2 separate regions of the Homo sapiens genome follow, and region 1 is linked to region 2. The links are contacts of gene promoters, found by promoter capture Hi-C in blood cells and fetal thymus (Javierre and others, 2016). All regions are on one chromosome and are shown on one strand. Each heading gives the region's core, a stretch centred on a gene start or on the middle of the fragment in contact. The rest is flanking DNA. Distances are from core to core; before and after follow the strand shown.

What was found. Contacts are between HindIII fragments. The CHiCAGO score rates a contact against its expected background, and 5 or more counts as called.
Region 1: a contact is called between a fragment that was not itself captured here and the fragment with the promoter of TCEA3 in region 2, in 1 of 17 cell types (naive CD8 T cells). The highest score is 5.0, in naive CD8 T cells.

Annotation. Positions count from the first base shown.
Region 1 is chr1:23,638,805-23,644,113 of GRCh38, forward strand. It overlaps MDS2 (myelodysplastic syndrome 2 translocation associated), which reads left to right. Exons shown (of 6, transcript NR_167910.1): 5 at 876-991; 6 at 1,524-1,764. Among named protein-coding and RNA genes, the nearest start is that of MDS2, 14 kb to the left of the region's middle. The HindIII fragment of the contact is 5,004 bases long and covers 420-5,309 here.
Region 2 is chr1:23,421,691-23,426,591 of GRCh38, forward strand. It overlaps TCEA3 (transcription elongation factor A3), which reads right to left and starts at 3,058. Exons shown (of 11, transcript NM_003196.3): 1 at 2,875-3,058. The coding sequence starts at 2,943. It overlaps LOC124903875 (a long non-coding RNA gene), which reads left to right and starts at 3,176. Exons shown (of 3, transcript XR_007065535.1): 1 at 3,176-3,471; 2 at 4,488-4,570. The HindIII fragment of the contact is 3,577 bases long and covers 1,297-4,873 here.

The DNA.
Region 1 (5,309 bases), core at 1,672-4,171, 220 kb after region 2:
AGAAGTCTGGGTCAACTTTGAGTCATCCTTCTGAGCACATCTTAAAAGTCACCTCTCCTGGGAAGCCCTCCTGGATTGCTAAAATGGGGTCGAATTCCCATGTTACACACTTGCAATGCTTCTCCTGCCAAGTAGTCATCATATGTATAAGTGGTTAAATATTTGTATTTACTCGGTAGAAGCCCTGTGTTCTGACCCAGTTGGAGCTGGTAGTGGGCAGGTGCCAGGAATTTAGATAAAACCAGATGTGCGGGGGCAGGTTGCAGAGGGAAACCCTGGCTCTGAACATTCATTGTTTCCTGAGCTCCAGGCTGCGGATTTTATTGAGAGAACGGAGACTGCTGGTGAACTCTCAAGAGGGTTAATTGGAGTTTTATCAAGCCAGATTTCATGGTGTCTGCTTAATGTTAATCTCTCCAAGCTTCCCACCAGACTGCAAAGGCTGAGGTGACTGCCTTGACTCTACTATGTCCCTAGAACTTAAAGCCCCGTGGGTGGTTCTTGCACTTGACAAACACATATTAAAGGAAAGAACGAATCGATGAAGCATGGGTTTGGGTGCCGGGCTGGGGAAACCAGGTTTGTGAGTGAGGGGATGAGGTGACAGGACCCAAGCAGGGCTGGCATGGGTGGCAGCGGAGAACCACAAGACCACGTGTGGTCACCTATGTGATGATGCCTCCTGGAGTTGTTCAGAGCAGTGCACAGCCTGTGGTAGGGGGCTGGCTTCCCTTAAACGCTGTTTGGGGAAGTACAGCCTGACAGTAGGTTTTCAGGAACTGGGAGGACCAGAAGGTGCCCTGATTCCCTTCCTCCCTGATCTCCCCTGGCACCAGCTCCTTGCTCAGCCTCCTCGCTTCTCTAATTTCTTGCAGCTGCAGTGTTCTGAATAGCAGTCCAGCTATGAGGGGAGGTGCCCGTGGCAGGCCTCAGCTGACCCTGGAGAGGCCATTAAGACCTGGCTGTCGCCTCCACAGCTGCTCGGAGGCAGGTGAGTCTGGTTCTCTGAGTCTCCCTCCTAGAGGTGGGCACTGAAGTCAGGCCCAGCGGATGGGAAGGAAAGAGGCCAGGGCTGGAGAAGCAGCCAGCGTTTCCCACTTCCTCCCCAACTGCCACTCCAGGTGGTGGCCCAGGTGACTGGGTCTCTTTGTCCTCCTCCCTCCCAGACACACTCTTGCCCTGGGTTTTCAGGAAAGTGGGGAGGCTAAGCAGCTCATCCCAGGCAGTTGGGCAAACCATCCCACCAGGTACCTGGCCAGATGCTGTCCCAGACACCTCCCTCCAGGCTGTCATCCTCCACATCACTGGGACTAGTAGTAAGGGAAATAGAAAGCTCCCCAACGCCCTCCACCTGCACCCCAGGCCTGATCCTGAGGCATGGCTGGCTCAGAGACAGTGACAGTGGGGTCAAAGGGTATGAGACAGATTCTCCATCTACCAGGAACAGGCAAGTGAGCCTCAGCCTCCTCGTCTGGAATGAGGGACAATAGTACCTATTTCACAGTAAAGTTTCTGGAACATAGGTGTTCAATAAATGACAGACGCTACCATCACAGATTACCAATGTTACAAAACTGTAAACAGAGAAAGGTGGCTTTGTAAGAAGAAAAGAGATCATTCTTTTTCCACCATGTGAGGACCCAGCAAGAGGGTGGCTGTCTGCAAACCCAGGGAGAGAGCCCTCACCAGGAATCTGCTGGCACCTTAATCTTGGACTTCCCAGCCTCCACAACTGTGAGGAATAAATGTATGTTGTTTAAGCCACCCAGTTTGTGGTATTTTGTTATAGCAGTCCTAGCTGACTAAAAAATACTGTCTCCTATAACCCATGAGTTTTGTTTCAAAGCACTTAACACAATCTATAGTTATACATCTACCTATGCAATTTATCTTTTTAAATTTTATTTTGTTTTATTATTTTTGGGGGATGGAGTCTCACTCAGTCACCCAGGCTGGAGTGCAGTGGCATGATCTCGGCTCACTGCAACTTTCGCCTCCTGAGTTCAAGCAATTCTCCTGTCTCAGCCTCTGAGTAGCTGGGATTATAGGTGTGTACCACCACGCCTGGCTAATTTTTGTATTTTTATTAGAGACGGGGTTTCACCATGTTGGCCAGGTTGCTCTCAAACTCCTAACCTCAAGTGATCCAGCTGCCTTGGCCTCCCAAAGTCCTGGGATTACAGGCATGAGCCACCGCACCTGGCCTGTGCAATTTATCTTTTTAAGTTTTTCCTGAAGTATAACAAACACAAAAACACACAAATCCTGTGTACAGCTCAATATACCTTCACAAAATGAACCCATCTGCATAACCTGCCTCTAGGTCAAGAAGTGAACATAACCAGCTCCCCAGAAGCCTCCTTGTGACGCCTCCTCATCGCTACCTCTCCCTGGAGGTAGCTATCATATAATTATTCATTTAGTTATCAATGTGGGTGTCATGTGTGTCCTCTATGGATTATTTTCTTAGGGCTGCTGTAACAAATTACTACAGCCTTGGTAGCTGAAAGCAACAGAAACTTATTCTCATGGTTCTTCCAGAAGTCTGAAATCAAGGTGGGCTGGGCGCGGTGGCTTATACCTATAATCCCAGCACTTTGGGAGGCTGAGGTGGGAGGATTGCTTGAGCCCAGGAGTTTGAGACCAGCCTGGGCAACATGGTGAAACACCATCTCTACGAAAAAATACAAAAAATAGCCAGCCTGTAGTCCCAACTACTTGGGGGGCTGAGGCAGGAGGATTGCTTGAGTCCGGGAGGTGGAGGTTGCAATGCGCTGAGATCACGCCACTGTACTCCAGCCTGGGTGATGGAGGGTCTAAGGGAAGATCCATTCCATGCCTTTCTCCTAACTTTTGGTGGCTGCTGGCAAAATCCTTGGCATTTTGTGGAGTGCCCCTGCCCTCCAGTCTCTGCTTCTGTCTTCACAAGGCCTTTTCGTCTGTGTCTCTGTGCACTCTTCTGTCTCTTATCAAGACACTCTCATTGGATTTCAGGCCCACCCTAATCCAGCATGATTTTATTTTGATACTTATCTTAATTACACCTGCAAAGACCCTGTTTTCTTTTTCTTTTTTTTTCTTTTCTTTTTTTTTTTTTTGAGATGGAGTCTCACTCTGTCGCCCAGGCTGGAGTGCAGTGGCACTATCTCGGCTCACTGCAAGCTCTGCCTCCCGGGTTCAGGCCATTCTCCTGCCTCAGCCTCCCAAGTAGCTGGGACTACAGGCGCCCGCCACCACGCCTGGCTAATTTTTTTGTATTTTTAGTAGAGACGGGGTTTCACCGTGTTGGCCAGGATGGTCTCGATCTCCTGACCTCGTGATCCACCCACCTCGGCCTCCCAAAGTGCTGGGATTACAGGCGTGAGCCACCACGTCCGGCCAACCCTGTTTTCAAGTAAGGTCATATTCTGAAGTTCTAGGTGGACATGCATTTTTGGGAGACACGCTTTCACCCACCGTACCCTACAAGATTGCAAGCCCCAGGAGGACAAGTGGTGTCACTCATCTTTGGATCCCCAGAACGAGCCTAGCCTCAGAACCTAGCCTGGCAGATAGGAGCTGCTCACAAAATGTGGGCTGAATAGATGAATTATCAGTACATCTTCACATCAGGAGAACCAATGCTGTGTACCTGACACATGGTGGGTAGTGAGTAATTGATTGACAAGTGAATGACATTTAGACATCAATTGAGAGTGACTGCAGAGTATAGAAATAATGATAGGATGGCTGGGCGTGATGGCCATGCCTGTAATCCCAGGACTTTGGGAGGCTAAGGCAGGTGGATCACTTGAGGTCAGGAGTTCAAGACCAGCCTGGCCAACATGGTGAAGCCCTATCTCTACTAAAAATACAAAAATTAGCCAGGCATGGTGGCACATGCCTGTAATCCCAGCTACTTGGGAGGCTGATGCAGGAGAATCACTTGAACCTGCGAGGCAGAGGTTGCAGTGAGCCGAGATCATGCCATTGCACTCCAGCCTGTGCAATGAGCAAAACTCTGTCTAATAAATAAATAAATAATGATAAGATGGCCAGGCACGGTGGCTCATGCCTGTAATCCCAGCACTTTGAGAGGCCGAGGCAGGTGGATCACTTGAGGTCAGGAGTTCAAGACCAGCCTGGCCAACATGGTGAAACCTCATCTCTATTAAAAACACAGAAATTAGCCTGATGTCATGGCAGGTGCCTGTTTCCAGCTACTTAGGAGGCTGAGGCAAGAGAATGTCTTGAACCTGGGAAGCTGAGGTTGCAGTGAGCAGAGATCATGCCACTGCACTCCAGTGTGGGTGACAGAGCAAGACTATCTCAAAAAAAAAAAAAAAAGGCCGGGCGTGGTGGCTTATGCCTGTAATCCCAGCACTTTGGGAGGCCAAGGCTGGCAGATCACCTGAGGTCAGGAGTTCGAGATCAGCCTGGGCAACATGGTGGAACCCCGTCTCTACAAAAAACACAAAAAATTAGCTGGGCGTGGTGGCACGTACCTGTAGTCCCAGCTACTCAGGAGTCTGAGACATGAGAATTACTTGAACCGGGGAGGCGGAGGTTGCAGTGAGCCGAGATCATGCCACTGCACTCTAGCCTGGGCAACAGAGTGAGACTCCATCTCAAAAAAATAAAAATAAAAATAAAAAAATAAAAAGAAATAATGAAGGTGCTGCTCACTGAGCACTTACTTTGGCCCCCCTGTATTCTCTGCATGGTTCTATTTAATCCCATTTTACAGAAAAGTAGGGGATCATGTGTCCCAGTTTGGATGGGACAGATCCAGTTGGCACCTATTGTCCCAGCATAGGGAGTATTTTATTCCCACTTTCCCATTCTAGTCTTAGAAGCGTACTGAGCTGGTCAATAAAGTACATGGTCACCCCATAGATAAGGCAATGGAGCCTTAAAAATTCCTAAAGGCAATAAATTCAGCACCTGATTTGCTTTCTTCTCAGAGACTCTAAAGCCTTTGCCCTTAACTGCTAGTGGTGCTGAGGGTGTTAATTAGGAGGGTTGTTGTTTTTTTGTCCTTGTTTTAGTTTTGGCAGCAATAAGGCTGGTATCAAGTAACCATCTCAAGAGAGAGAGGTCGTAGGGAGGCCAGCTCCCTCCCTGCTCCAGTCTGGTGATCTGTGGAGGAGGAGAGAGGTTCACAGACCCCCATCCACGCAGAATGGCTCAAGAATTTGCAGGTCCCAGTGCAAAATCAAAATGCAGAGCCTCTTGTTAAACAGTTAAAAAACTGTTAATAATTCAAGACAGCAACAGCAGAGCATTAAACAAACGCTGGGCCCTTTGGTGTGTGGGACCATGCAGGTCAC
Region 2 (4,901 bases), core at 1,808-4,307:
CATACATGACAGTACAATGTAGTAAAACAATCAGGAAGTGATTATTTTGGAGGATTCCTTACCTTTGTTTTTAATATAATTTATTTATTGTAAGCAGATAATGTAGTTTTTTGAAACAATTGCTGTGTTTAACCACCAGGTTGCAAAATTCCTGAAAACGCAACAATCTGTGTTAAGCCAGTTCCAGCTCTCCACTGGGTGTATGCCTCGTGTGTCACAGCTGTATAACTGGGTCATATTGGAGGAGAATAGCCATGAGCCTGGATTGTAGCTGGATAAACAAAGCCTTGTGCAAATGTTGCTGGGTGTATCTCTCTGAACATACAAATGGGTTCTGTAGCCAGTAGTATCTCTGGTCTAAGTGTGCAGCTGTGAATATGCAGCTCCGGGCACAGCTGTGTCTATTTGGCTTTGTGGGATGACGCCTGTGTTATAAGATCTGAATGTATAAATGTGGCTGTTTGCTAAGTCTGTAGCATTGCATGTCTGGGTGTAGCTGTGCTGCGTGCATACGTGTGTGGCTGTCTTTGTGTATCATTCTATAACTATAATGGTCAATGTGGGTCATATGGGTCAGTATGCTTGTCATGTTGGTGTCAGTAGCCGTGTCTCATACGCAGTTAGGTTCAGTTGCTTGTTTAACTACTGTGTTGTGGCCACATGTTATAGCTATGTGTGTGTATGTAGCTGTGACCGTAGGCACTTGGTTGCATGTTTGAAGTTGCTTCTGTTAGTGCATGCTCAGAGGATGTGACAAAGCCTTAAGTGGCTGAGACTTCAGCAACCGGCAGTAAACCCCGGGCCTGAGCTGCAACGTGGAGGATCCGTCTTATTACAGGAAGTATGTCCTCCTCTGCCTAACCACTGCTGGGCGGGTCCACTTTCACTCCCAGAGCAGGCCCCACCTTTCTCGGCCAGACGCCCAGAGCTCCATGCCCACCCAGACACTGCCGAGAGCCCAGGCGCAGACGTGGCTGTAAACTGGCTCCATGCTGCAGGGACCCTGCGGCCAGACTTGCATCTTTTCAGGGGACAGCTCTGGGCACTTCCACAGGAATCCATCTCCAAAAGACACCATTTCCTCTTCCCATTTCACAGAAGAGGAAACTCGAGGTCCAGAAAGGGAAGGTTGAGTGGCTTTTGCCTAGGGCCATAAAAGGAGTGAGGGGGAGGCCAGGGCAGGTCCCGTCCTCTTCAGCCAGAGCTCTATCCCAAGCAGCCTGCCTCTCCTCCGGTCTCTAGGCGTCCCCACCCTACCCCTCTTACCCAGGGGCCCAGAATTTCTTTCCTGGCCCAAGCTTGGGGGTCAGTAAGGAGCTGGGCTGGGATAACCCGTCTATTTGAACTGGAATTTGGCTCAGAATCCCTGGCTGCGCTCTGCCAACCCCAGCTGAGAAAATGCTCCCCCAAGACTTGTGGCTCAGTTGTACTGAGGATTGTGGAGGAGTCTGGAACGGGGAGTGCATGGAGGTTGGGAGTGTCAGGTGAGAAGCTCCCAGCACTCTGCAGGTTTGTGCTGTATCTTTCTGTGTTGGACCTGGCTGCGTAGAAGCAGGTCTTGTTCGCCAGTTCTTAGCAAGCACAGGTCTGAGTCCTACTAAGGGCTTTACATCTCTGTCTCATCTCTCCAATCCTCACCGCTGCCAGCAGAGACAAGAATCCAGTGACATCCCTTCTCCAGAGGCAGATAATCTCATCTCTTTCTTACAGATGAAGAAACTGAGGCTCTGGCCTTTATATGGACACCAACTCATGACTGCCCAGTGTCCACTCTAGGGCTCCCTGCCACTTCATGGTTCCAGTGACCCTTCCCTGGGCCTTGGCTACTCTTCCTGGCTCTAAAACTTCCCTTAGTGTCTCTTCCTTTCCCAGGCTCCTAAGTGTCCTGGAAATGCAGGTGGCTGCAGCACATGGCTACGGATGGTGGGAGGAAGAGGACCCTGGAACAGGAACGGGAGGTGGGAAGGGCATGCTCACCAGGCTCCCTTTTTTTCCCTCCCAGGGTGAGCGCAGGCCCTCCAGGACCCAAGGCCAAATTTGCTCTGGCCAGGCGACCAGTCGGCCGCCAGCCCCAGGCAAAGATCACGGGGAAGATCAAACATTAACTTCCAGCTGGGTCTGCGCTCTGGCCAGGACCCTCCGGTAGGGCTGTCAGCCCTGCTCCCAACCTCCCGCCGAGCCCGCTCCTCCCTCCGCCCTCGCCCTCGCTGCACAGGCCTCCAGCCCGGCCCCCTTCCCCCGCCCCGCGGGCCCCCGCACCTGTTCGGCCCCCGCCCGTCCGGGCCGCACCCCAAGGCCAAGGAAAGGGAAAATTGCCAAAAGAACCGCTCCTGACGCACCAAGCGGTGGGGTCGCAGGATCCACGGCCTTTTACTTCTCTCCCGCAGACCCACTCCGGGGTGCAGGGATGCAGCTCAGTACCCCCGTCAGCCCAAGTTTCTCTGCCACTTCTCGGGCCACCCGGATTTGCCCCCCGCCCCGCCCCCGCCATCGCCGCCGCTCCCCGGGCTTTGCACACGCCAAGCCCTGGGACTCCCAAAGTCCTTTCCCACGTCCAGCTCTCTTCGCCCGCTTTCCTGGGCCCTGCACTAGCTGCCCAGGGTGAACCCTACACGTCCAAAGGGACGTGCACAAGTCGCGCCTCCGGGACCCGCACGATCCCCCTGGCGTCCTGGGCCACGCACACGCCCACCTCGAGGTGCTCAGCAAGGGTCCCCAAGGGGCCTTGGGCCCTGCACCAGCCGCTCCTCCCTCGGGTCCCCGAGTCCCGTACGCGCCCCCATGGCGCCCCGCCAGTACGTCCCCACCCCGGAATCCGGGGCTTGCCCGCGCCTCCCGGGGGCGGGGGCCGTGGCCCAAACTCTGCAGCCTCACCGTGTTCTTCCTGGCCACCATCTTCTCCAGCTTTTTGGCGATCCTCAGCAGCTCCTCTTCCTGGCCCATGTTGGCCCGCGACGCCCGGCGGGGCGAGGGGCACAGGGGCAGCAGTAGGGCCTCGGGGGCAGGAGGCGCGAAGGCGGAGGGCGCGCAACCCGCGCGGGCCCCAAACACACACGACACACACGCCCGGCGGGGGCGGGGCTCTCCCCACCCCCACCCCCCCACCGCCCGCCTCCCAACTGTGCGGGGGAGGGGTGGCGGGCACTAAATATAGACTTCAAGGACTTGCCCGGGCACTGATTGCCCGCGCCGGCCGATCGGGCCTCAGGGGAGGGACGAGGCTGAGAGAGGGGACCCTCCAACTCCGGCCCTTCCAGGGGCGCCGGGGGACCGAAGAGAGATTTGGGAAGGAGGGCTCTCTGGCGAGCTGGGAGGCTGTGACCTGGCCACAGGCGGCGGTCGCGGCGCGGAGGGCGCCCGAGGGTGTCCCAGGGGCCCTGGGAAGCGTTCTGGGCTCCCGCGTCTCTGCACCGTTGCATCTCAAAGCGGGAGGACACAGTTCCGCGCCTATGCCCAAGTGGAGGCAACTCGGTGCGCTCGAATCCCGTGTGTGTGTGTGTGTGTGTGTGTGTGTGTGTGTGTGTGTGTGTGTGTAGATCACTAAATCCAGCTCTGCTTTAACCTGCACTCACTCCATCGTGCACACGGCCTGTGCATGCCACGTGTATCCAGGCTCCTGTTTGCCTCTGTCTACCTAAAACTTCCTTTGCTGGCTGTTTTGTTAGTAAGGCTTTGCATTTTTAACAAGCTCCTATGTGCTGGGGGTGCTGCTGGTCCCAGAACTACACTCTCGAGTAGTGAGAGCTTATCGGGGAGATTCTTTTTATTTTTTTGAGACAGGGTCTCCCTCTGTGGCTGAGGCCAGAGTGGAGTGGAGCAATCAGGCTCACTGCCTCGACTTCCCCAGCTCAAGTGATCCTTTCTGCCTCAGCCTCCTGAGTAGCTAGGACTACAGGCGTGAGCCATCCATCATGCCCAGCTAATTTTTTAATTTTTTGTAAAGACTAGGTCTTACTACGTTGCCCAGGCTGGTCTGGAACTCCTGGTCTCAAGCGATCCGCCTGCCTTGGCCTCCCAAAGTGCTGTAATTACAGATGAGATTCTTTTTTTTTTTTTTTGAGACGCAGTCTCGCACTGTCGCCCAGGCTGGAGTGCAGTGCCACGATCTCGGCTCACTGCAAGCTCTGCCTCCCGGGTTCACACCATTCTCCTGCCTCAGCCTCCTGAGTAGCTGGGACTACAGGCGCCCGCCACCACGCCCGGCCAATTTTTTTGTATTTTTAGTAGAGATGGGGTTTCACCATGTTATCCGGAATAGTCTCGATCTCCTGACCCCGTGATCTGCCTGCCTCGGCCTCCCAAAGTGCTGGGATTACAGGCGTGAGCCACCGCACCCCGCCGAGATTCATTCTTAAGTGCACCAAATTTTGAGAAATATTGATCCAGGTGCAAGGCTGCCAGGTCAGGCCAGTATCCCCTCAGTGGGGTTGGGTTTGGAAGTCATCTTAGTGGAGGGGTGGAAACACAATTGTGCCTATCTTCCCCAGCCATGCAGGGATCTGCCTTCCTGTGGAATGATCTCCAATGATCTTCAAGTATCTCCTGCAGACCCAGTTCTCTTGCTAAATAAGTGAGTTTAATGGACAGAAAATGATCTTCCTGTGATGGGGGTGGGGCTCAGGAACCTGGAGGGAAGGCATGAAAAGTGGTCCACAGTGTGTGGGAGCTGGGGTTGGGGTGTCGAGTGAAATCTCCTGATTTTCCTGAGAGAACCGCATTTCAGCTTGGGTCGCAGAGGCAGCTTGGTGTGGACACCTATCTTCTAATTGCTATGTGACGGGGATCAAGGTAGGACAGAGTGGGTTTTTTTCATCCATTCAACAAATACGTATTGAGTGTCCAAGCAATGAACAAGACAGACCCAGTCCCAGAAAGCTTGAGACTCAGTCTATGGGCAAGAG